Regions from separate parts of the Homo sapiens genome. Here region 2 is linked to region 1. The links are contacts of gene promoters, found by promoter capture Hi-C in blood cells and fetal thymus (Javierre and others, 2016). All regions are on one chromosome and are shown on one strand. Each heading gives the region's core, a stretch centred on a gene start or on the middle of the fragment in contact. The rest is flanking DNA. Distances are from core to core; before and after follow the strand shown.

The links. The method cuts DNA at HindIII sites, captures the fragments that hold promoters and counts their contacts. A CHiCAGO score of 5 or more calls a contact.
Region 2: a fragment that was not itself captured here is called in contact with the fragment with the promoter of EIF2S3B in region 1 in 4 of 17 cell types (total CD8 T cells, naive CD8 T cells, endothelial precursors and 1 more); the score reaches 18.9 in total CD8 T cells.

The regions. Positions count from the first base shown.
Region 1 is chr12:10,502,634-10,507,484 of GRCh38, forward strand. EIF2S3B (eukaryotic translation initiation factor 2 subunit gamma B) reads left to right here and starts at 3,257. Exons shown (of 1, transcript NM_001357734.3): 1 at 3,257-4,851. The coding sequence starts at 3,270. The coding sequence ends at 4,688. The region is part of intron 3 of LOC105369657 (a long non-coding RNA gene); the gene reads right to left. The HindIII fragment of the contact is 5,298 bases long and covers 1-3,507 here.
Region 2 is chr12:10,233,883-10,239,132 of GRCh38, forward strand. It overlaps a transcript of KLRD1 not described here. Among named protein-coding and RNA genes, the nearest start is that of GABARAPL1-AS1, 21 kb to the left of the region's middle. The HindIII fragment of the contact is 612 bases long and covers 1,609-2,220 here.

The DNA of each region.
Region 1 (4,851 bases), core at 2,007-4,506:
CACATGGTAAACTAATTTTTATATTAATATAAGGATGCCATGAAATGACAGTCTCTTTGGCAAATCATGTTGGGAAAACTGAATATCCATATGTAGATGTTGGATTCATCATACACCAGGCACAAAATCAAATCAAAATCAACTGAAGATTTAAATGTAAGAACTAAAACTTTTAAACTCCTAGAAGAAAACATAGAGGAACAGTTTACATATAAGAAATATTATATAGAAACAATTTAAATCTAGGAATGTCCTAATAGACTGTACTAAATACACTTTATCTCTTTTTATCTCAATCTTTTATTTTTATTTTAGAATCAAGAGGTACATGTGCAGATTTTTTACATAAATATATTGCGTGATGCCAAGGTTTAGTTTTCATTTGACCCCATCACCACATAGTGAGCATAGTACCCAATAGGTGGGTTTCAACCCCTACACTCCTCCTTTCATCCCCCCTTTTGGAGTTGCAAGTGTCTATTGTTCTCATCTTTATGTCCATGTGTACTCAATGTCCAGCTCCCACTCATAAGTGAGAACATGTAAGTATTTGGTGTTCTGTTCCTGTGTTAATTTGATTAGGATAATGGCCTCCAGCTGCATCCATGTTGCTGTGAAGGACATCATTTTATTCTTTATTATGGCTTCATAGTATTCCATGAGTGTATGTGTACCACATTTTCTTTATCCAATCCACTTTTGATGGGCACCTAGGTTGATTCCATATCTTTACTATTGTGAATAATGCTGTGATAAACATACAAATTCCAGTGTATTTTAGTAGAATGATTTATTTTCCTTTGGGTATATACCCAGTAATGGGATAACTGGGCTGAATGGTAGTTGTGTTTTTAAGTTCGTTGAGAAATCTCCAAACTGGTTTCCACAGTGTCTTAACTAATTTACATTTCCACCAACAGTGTATCAGTGTCCCTTTTCTTGGCAACCTCACCAGCATCTCTTATTCTTTCACATTTTAATCAAAATGCCAAATTTGAATCACCATAGTGACTGGTGAGAGACAGTATCTCATTGTGGTTTTGATTTGCATTTCTCAAAGATCCCTTGATCTGTATGTCTGTTATTATGCCAGTACTACTGTAGCTTTGTAATAGTTTTGAATTCAGGGTGTATGATGCCTTTAACCTTGTTTAACCTTGTTCTTCTTCCTGGAGATTGCTTTGGCTATTCAGTGTCTTTTGTGGTTCTACATGAGTTTAATGAATATTTTTCTATTTTTGTAAAAAAAAGTGCAATTGTGATTTTGAACAGAATTGCCTTGAATCTATAGATGTATTTGATTACATTAAATTTTCATAAAAGCATAAGTAACCAAAGCAAAATTATATAAAGTGGGACTACATCAAACTAAAAATGTTCTGCACAGCAAAGGAAACAGCAGAGTGAAAGGCAACCTATAGATTTGAGAAAACATTGCAAATAACATATCTGTTAAGGTATTAATGTCCAGAATATATAAGGAACCTCTACAACTTAATACCAAAAACAAAAAATAGCCCAATTTTAAAAAATGGATGAAGGACTTGAATAGACATTTCTCCACAAAAGACATGCATGTGGCCAGTGGGTATATAAAAAAATGCTCAACATCACTAATCATTAGGGAAATATTCTAAGATGCTACCTAACACCTGTTAGGATGACTATTTTACATATATATATATATATATATATATATGGATACATTCACATATCCATATATTCATTCATATATACCCAGAAGAAGGAGATGAGCCATCCTCTCACTTTCATTTATTACCCTCTTCCTTAAAACGAATATATCCATATACATATATATGAAGATATATATATATATATATATATATATATATATATATATATATATATGTTGGTAAGAATGTGAAGAAATTGGAACCCTAGCACATTGTTGATAAGAATGCACTATGAAAAAGGTGTATAGAGCTTCCTCAAAAATTAAGAGTAAAACTACCCATATAACCCAATAATATCACTTCTGGGTATACAGTATATCCAAAAGAATTAAAATTAGTATCTTGAAGAGATATCTGCACTCCCACATCAATGGTAGGATTATCAAGAATAAATAATATTTAAACAACCTAAATGTACACTGACAGATGAACAGATAAAGAAAATGTAGTATGTACATATGATGGAATATTCTTCAGCCTTAAAGAAAGAATATTCTGCCATTCATGACAACATGAATGACCCTTGAGGACATTAAGCTAAATAAAATAAGCCAGTCACAGAAGAACAAATGCTTTATGATTATACTATATGAGTTATCTAAAGTAGTCAAATTCATAGGAACAGAGAATGGTGGTTACCAGGGACTCACTTTCAATTGGTTAAGTTTCAGTTACGAAAGACGAATAAGTTCTAGAGATATACTGTACCACATAGTACGTATAGTTAGCAACAATACGTTGATCACTTTAAAATCTGCTAGGAGGGTAGATCTCATGTCAAGTGTCTTACTTGCCCTCTGCTCCCAAAATAAAGGTACTCAAGAAAAACTTTGTAGATGATAAACATGCCTACTATCTTCATTGGGTGATGGTATTACGAATGTATGCATATGTCCAAACTCATCAAATTGTATACGTTAAAAATGCACAGTTTTTTTGTATATAAACTATACCTCAATAAAGCTATTGTAATAAATCTCCAATATAGCATCTATTAATGGTCATCACTCCAACATAATTTGAAGAAATGAAAATTATAATATAAACCACGACATAGCTATTTGTTTCGAACAAAAAATAAATATATTAATAATTAATCTTCTTAAAGAAGAAAAATATTTAGTGTAGAATTATTCAGTGTGTTGCTGGTTTTGTGTCTTCTTAGAAATGTAATAGCAGGCTGTATATACAAGATCCATTTTCATATAAATAGATTACAATGGTCCATTAATTTTTTAAGTATTTATCTGTGGTCAACTGAAAATATATTTTCGACCCGCCTCGCATGGGCCCAGGGGGCGGGGGTTTGGGTGGCTGCCCTCAGTATTGCCTGCACAAATATCTACCAAGTCTGCGACGAATAGCTCCAGCAACTTTGCACCGTGTTTTCCAGTAAGCCTACCGACAGGCACTGTGCAGATTCAAGCAGAGAGAAGTCCAAGCACTGAGGCCGCTGCTGCACCGGCCATCCTGAGACCCTAGTCGACCTTCCGGCCTCCGCATCCCCGCCCCGCACTAGGACCCCTGCAGACGATCAGGCGGCAGCCGGGGTGACTTTCTTCCTCTTTTGGCAACATGGCGGGCGGAGAAGCTGGGGTGACTCTGGGGCAGCCGCACCTTTCGCGTCAGGATCTCACCACCTTGGATGTTACCAAGTTGACGCCACTTTCACACGAAGTTATCAGCAGACAAGCCACAATTAATATAGGTACAATTGGTCATGTAGCTCATGGGAAATCCACAGTCGTCAAAGCTATTTCTGGAGTTCACACCGTCAGGTTCAAAAATGAACTAGAAAGAAATATTACAATCAAGCTTGGATATGCTAATGCTAAGATTTATCAACTTGATGACCCAAGTTGCCCTCGGCCAGAATGTTATCGATCTTGTGGGAGCAGTATGCCTGATGAGTTTCCTACAGACATTCCAGGAACCAAAGGGAACTTCAGATTAGTCAGACATGTTTCCTTTGTTGACTGTCCTGGCCACGATATTTTGATGGCTACTATGCTGAACGGTGCAGCAGTGATGGATGCAGCTCTTCTGTTGATAGCTGGTAATGAATCTTGCCCTCAGCCTCAGACATCTGAACACCTGGCTGCTATAGAGATCATGAAACTGAAGCATATTTTGATTCTACAAAATAAAATTGATTTGGTAAAAGAAAGGCAGGCTAAAGAACAATACGAGCAGATCCTTGCGTTTGTCCAAGGTACAGTAGCAGAGGGAGCTCCCATTATTCCAATTTCGGCTCAGCTGAAATACAATATTGAAGTTGTTTGTGAGTACATAGTAAAGAAAATTCCAGTACCCCCAAGAGACTTTACTTCAGAGCCCCGGCTTATTGTTATTAGATCTTTTGATGTCAACAAACCTGGCTGTGAAGTTGATGACCTTAAGGGAGGTGTAGCTGGTGGTAGTATCCTAAAAGGAGTATTAAAGGTGGGCCAGGAGACAGAAGTAAGACCTGGTATTGTTTCCAAAGATAGTGAAGGAAAACTCATGTGTAAATCAATCTTTTCCAAAATTGTTTCACTTTTTGCGGAGCATAATGATCTGCAATATGCTGCTCCAGGCGGTCTTATTGGAGTTGGAACAAAAATTGACCCCACTTTGTGCCGGGCTGACAGAATGGTGGGGCAAATACTTGGTGCAGTCGGAGCTTTACCTGAGATATTCACAGAATTGGAAATTTCCTATTTCCTGCTTAGACGGCTTCTAGGTGTACGCACTGAAGGAGACAAGAAAGCAGCAAAGGTTCAAAAGCTGTCTAAGAATGAAGTGCTCATGGTGAACATAGGATCCCTGTCGACAGGAGGGAGAGTTAGTGCTGTCAAGGCCGATTTGGGCAAAATTGTTTTGACCAATCCAGTGTGCACAGAGGTAGGAGAAAAAATTGCCCTTAGCCGAAGAGTTGAAAAACACTGGCGTTTAATTGGTTGGGGTCAGATAAGAAGAGGAGTGACAATCAAGCCAACAGTAGATGATGACTGAAGAATACCGGTTAAATAATACATTCGGATGGAGCTGGAAGTTGCAATTTCTCTTTAACAACCAAGGGGTTTATTTTCAAAGCGATATTGGGGAATTGATTTCACAGTTTGTTACCTTAGTAGGTAACGGTAAGGTTATTCTCTCTTTTTTTTTTTGGTTATGA
Region 2 (5,250 bases), core at 665-3,164, 270 kb before region 1:
AAAATACAATCATGCCCTCCCAACAGTCCCCCAAAATCTTAACTCATTCCAGCATTAACCCAAAAGTCCAAGTCCAAAGTCTCATCTGAGACAAGGCAAGTCTCTTCTGCCTATGAGCCTGTAAAATCAAAAGCAACTTAGTTACTTCGTAGATACAATGAGGGTACAGGCATTGGGTAAATACGCCCATTCCAAATGGGATAAATTGGCCAAAATGAATGTGCTACAGGCCCCATGCAAGTCCAAAATCCAGTAGGGCAGTCATTAAATCTTAAAGTTACAAAATGTTTTCCTTTGACTCCATGTCTCACATCCAGTTCAGCCTGATGCATGAGGTGGGCTCCCATGGCCTTGGGAATCTCTGCCCCTGTGGCTTTGCAGGGTACAGCCCCACTCCTGGCTGTGCTTAGTGGCTGCAGCTTTCCCAAGCACATGTTGCAAACTGTCAATGGATCACCATTCTGGGGTTTGGAGAATGGTGGCCCTCTTCTCAGAGCTCGACTAGGCAGTGCTCCAGTGGAGACTCTGTGTGGGGGCTTCAACCCACATTTCCCTTCCACACTGCCCTAGCAGAGGTTATTCATGAGGGCTCCACCCCTGCAGCAAACTTCTGCCTGGACATTCAGGCATTTCCATACATCCTCTGAAATTTAGGTGGAGGTTCCCAAACCTCAATTCTTGACTTCTGTGCACCCACAGGCTCAAGACCACATAGAAGCCAACAAGGCTTGGGGCTTGCAGCCTCAGAAGCAATGGCCTGAACTTTACCTTGGCCCCTTTTAGCCACAGCTGGAGTTTAAGCAACTGGGATTCAGGGCACAATTCCCAAGGGTGCACAGAGCAGGGGGGGCCCTAGACCCAGCTCATGAAACCATTTTTCCCTCCTAGGCCTCCAGGCCTGTGATGGGAGTGGCTGCTGTGAAGGTATCTGACATGCCCTGAAGACATTTTCCCCATTGTCTTGGTGATTAACATTTGTCTCCTTGTTACTTATGCAAATTTCTGCAGCTGGCTTGAATTTCTCTCCAGAAAATGAGTTTTTCTTTTTTATTGCATGTTCAGGCTGCAAATTTTCCAAACTTTTATAGTCTACTTCCTTTTGAACAGTTTGCTGCTTAGAAATTTCTTCTGCTAGATACCCTAAATCATGTCTCTCAAGTTCAAAGTTCCACAGATCTCTACAGAAGGGACAAAACACCACCAATCTCTTTACTAAAGCATAGCAAGAGTCACCTTTGCTCCAGTTCCCAACAAGTTCCTCGTCTCCATCTGAGGCCACCTCAGCCTGGACTTCATTGTCCATATCACCATCAGCATTTTGGTCAAAACCATTCAACAAGTCTCTCAGAAGTTCCAAACTTTGCCATATCTTCTTGTCTTCTTCTGAACCCTCCAAACTGTTCCAACCTCTGCCTGCTACCCAGTTGCAAAATCGCTTCCCTTCTACATTTCCAGGTATCCTTATAGCAGTGCCTCACTTCCTCAATACCAATTTACTGTATTAGTCTATTTTCACACTGCTATGAAGAAATATTCGAGACTGGTTAATTTAAAAAGAAAAGAGGTTTAATTGAATCATAGTTCCACATGGCTGGGGAGGCCTAAGGAAGCTTATAGTCATGGCAGAAGGTGCATTCTTCACAGGCCGGCAGGAGAGAAAATGAGTGCCAGGAGAGGAAATGCCGGATTGCTATAAACCTATCAGATCTCATGAGAACTCACTTACTGTCAGGAGAACAGCATGGGGGAAACCGCCCCCATGGGTCCCTCGCATTACATGTGGGGATTATGGGATTATAATTCAAGATGAGATTTAGGTGGGGACACAAAGCCAAACTATATCATGCTACTTACGAGTGGAGGTTATAGCATAAGGCTTCTTTGTACATCTTTAAGAAAATAAGCCACCTGTCTTCTGTCATCTGTCTTCTATTTTGATCTGACTGAAAGACATTGCTAAGCTAGTTTGCAAGGCAGCTCCCACCTCTAATTCTTCCCTCCTACTCCTTTACAGTTCAGGGAGGCTTCATTTCCAAAACGAGTGTGGTCATTGTACTTCTGGCCACCAGGTGGCAGGCCAGATCCACTTAATAACACTGCAGCCTTAATCCTCACTGGCTGCAATTATTTTCCTTTTTAATCAATCTGTTATTAATAATAGTGTCACCTTTTTGTAAACAAAACCACAGAATTTTAACAATAGAGAAAAAATAAGAAGTAAGCTTGTTCATTGTCAATTTTTCTTTTTAAATCTTCCCCCAAAGGAGGAAGATGCATTGCACATTTTTGTTGACTCTGGTGTCTCTTTCAGCATCTAGATGAAATAATAACATTTCTGTTTTAGACAAATAGATATATTTCTTCTGTTCCAAAAGGTAACAGTGGGCTGGGTGTGGTGGCTCACACCTGCAATCCCAGAACTTTGGGATCCAAAGTGGGCAGATTACTTGAGGCCAGGAGTTTGAAACCAGACAGGGCAACATGGTGAAACCCTGTCTGTACTAAAAATACAAAAATCAGCTGGCTGTGGTGGAGCATGCTTGCAGTCTCAGCTTCTCTGGAGGTTGATGCAGGGGAATCGCTTGAACCCGGCGGGTGGAGGTTGTAGTGAGCTGAGATTGCACCACTGCACTCCAGCTTGGGTGACAGAGCAAGGCACTGTCTAAAGAAAAAGTGGATAGAGGAGGGTGAGGCAGGAAAAGGAAAAGGAAGTCAGCATTTCTGGAGCATCTTTTCTCAAACATTCCTTGTTTATTTGGGAGATTAAGTTTCTTCTGAGGATAAAAAAAGATTAGAAGTTAGATTGGTATTGTCTTAGGGGGAAAACAGGCAAGTAGAATGATAATAGAACTTTGTTGCCATAGAATATACAACTAAGTAATACTGTTTATAATGTTCCAATTTACTACAGGTTGTGCATGCAAGCAGTCCTCTGTTTATCTCCTCATCCTCCAGTGTCACATGTCAATTGCCCTGTCACTAACTAATCACAAACCACACTGGCCTTTTATTAGTTTCTTGAATGGCATTAAATTCTTTCTGTCTCAGTCAGGGCTGTGCACATACCTGGTATCTTCCACTGAACTGCTCCTCTCTTAGCTCTGTATAGCCAGCTCCTTCTCATACTTTGTCGTAACTTAAATATTAATAGAGGCAGGAGGCAGAGAAATCCTAGACAGACAGGGATGGGTCCCTGGGGAAACCTTACCTTCAGGTCAAAAACAGCCTGAAACCCACAGACCAGAGTGAGGACTTCCATTCCTGTTTGTTGGCTCTCTTCTTATTGGTTCTTTCTGAATAATGCCTTTTAACCAATTGAATGTTGCTTTTTCCAATACTACCTATGGCCCACCCTGCCCCCATCCTGTTCCTATAAAGGCCCCTGTCAGTGGAGGGGAGACAGCCTGACTTTGGGGAGGAGACAGCTTGACTTCAGGGAAACATGATCTGCTTTTCTGATACCCTCTCCAGCTCCCCTCTCCACTAGAGAACTGTTTTCATCGCTCAATAAAATTCTCCACTCTTACCATTCTTCAGTTGTCAAGTGTGACCTCATTCTTCTTGGACGCTGGACAAAAGCTTGGGACCCACTAAGTGCAGGTGGAGGCTGTCACACTGGCCCTTTGCCCTTGCAAGTGGAGGGCAACCACCCCACTGGCAGCTACAGGGTCAGTGGCCAACTGAGCTGCTAACACACAGCCGTTTATCGACTGTGGATGGTGGAACTAAAAGAGCTAAGTAGCACACTCACACCCCCTCTGGGGCTTTGGGATCATGGGCACCAGGCTGCCATGTTCCCCTCAAGGCAACATGACTGGTCTGGACATGGGCTTTGCATGGAGCTTGCTCCTGTATTGGTGCTTGGAGTGGCTGGCCAGATCCCATACTCACTTGCTTATGTGTTACCTCTCTCAAGGGGCGGAGCATGGTGGGCCGAGGAGATGGGGCACTCGTGCTAGGAGTCCGGCAAAAGGGCCAAGAAAAATCCTGCATGAATATTACAATCTCTGATCATCCAGTTAAAGTTTCTAGGGCCCCTCTGCTGTTGCTGTCAATCTCAAACACTTTTTTGTTTCATTTACAACACATATTGGAACTTGTATTATTTTGAATTTGCTTTTTAACTTAAATTTTATAATTTCTTTCATTAGAATATGGTTTCCATGAGGCCAGAGAACATGTCTGTTTTTCTTTTTTCTATTTTTTTTTTTTTTTTTTTTGAGATGGAGTTTTGCTCTTTGTTGCCTAGGCTGGAGTGCAATGGTGTGATCTCAGCTCACCGCAACCTCTGCCTCCTGGGTTCAAGTGATTCTCCTGCCTCAGCTTCCTGAGTAGCTAAGATTACAGGCATGAGCCACCACACCCAGCTAATTTCGTATTTTTAGTAGAGATGGGGTTTCTCTATGTTGGTCAGGCTGGTCTTGAACTCCTGACCTCAGGTGATCTGCCTGCCTCGGCCTCCCAAAGTGCTGAGACTATAAGTGTGAGCCATTGCATCTGGCCCTTTTTCATTCACTGAATAATTTCACTACTTTACAAATATGTGTCAGGCACTAGGCTAGCAGACACACACATAATATTTGTTAAATAACCATACCTTTCTAGAAGGAACTTCCCCTTTAAAGTTTTTCTATATACAAATTGAGAAACAGGTAGAAAGAATCCACATTCTTAGAACTTATTCTTAGCAGATAATTTAATTTGAATCTCAATGAAAATGAAATTTAATAAATATGACTATTAAGAGACAATCAGAGTCATATTTTTAAAAAGTACATTCACTGACCTAATGAGTTATGATGTGTGGAGAACATATCACAGAACCAGAAACATCCTGTCCAAAACAGCCTAGCATATTTTAGTTCAACAAACAAAATGATGTGTTGAAATTTAGTTGGTGAGATAAGACAAAGCCAGCCCATTTGGGTCTAAATTTATGAGATTTTTTATCCAGAACATGATTATAATGATTATTTCACTTAGAGTTGTGTGAATCTGACCTAACCAAGGATAACAATGGGTAGGTCGAAGATCATATTTATGACATCTTGGCCCTGGATTTTTCCAGTTCGTTCAGACTTCAAAACCTTTGAAGGGAGTCTTAGGTTCTTACCTTATTGTTATTAAGATGTTCGAAAAGCTCAAGAATTCTAAAAAGCCAGAATGAGGGGATAACTTTCACCAAAGACTTTTCCTTTATCTTTTGTTGTACGTGGTCACTTAACTGTTTTAGCTTAATTTAACAAAAAA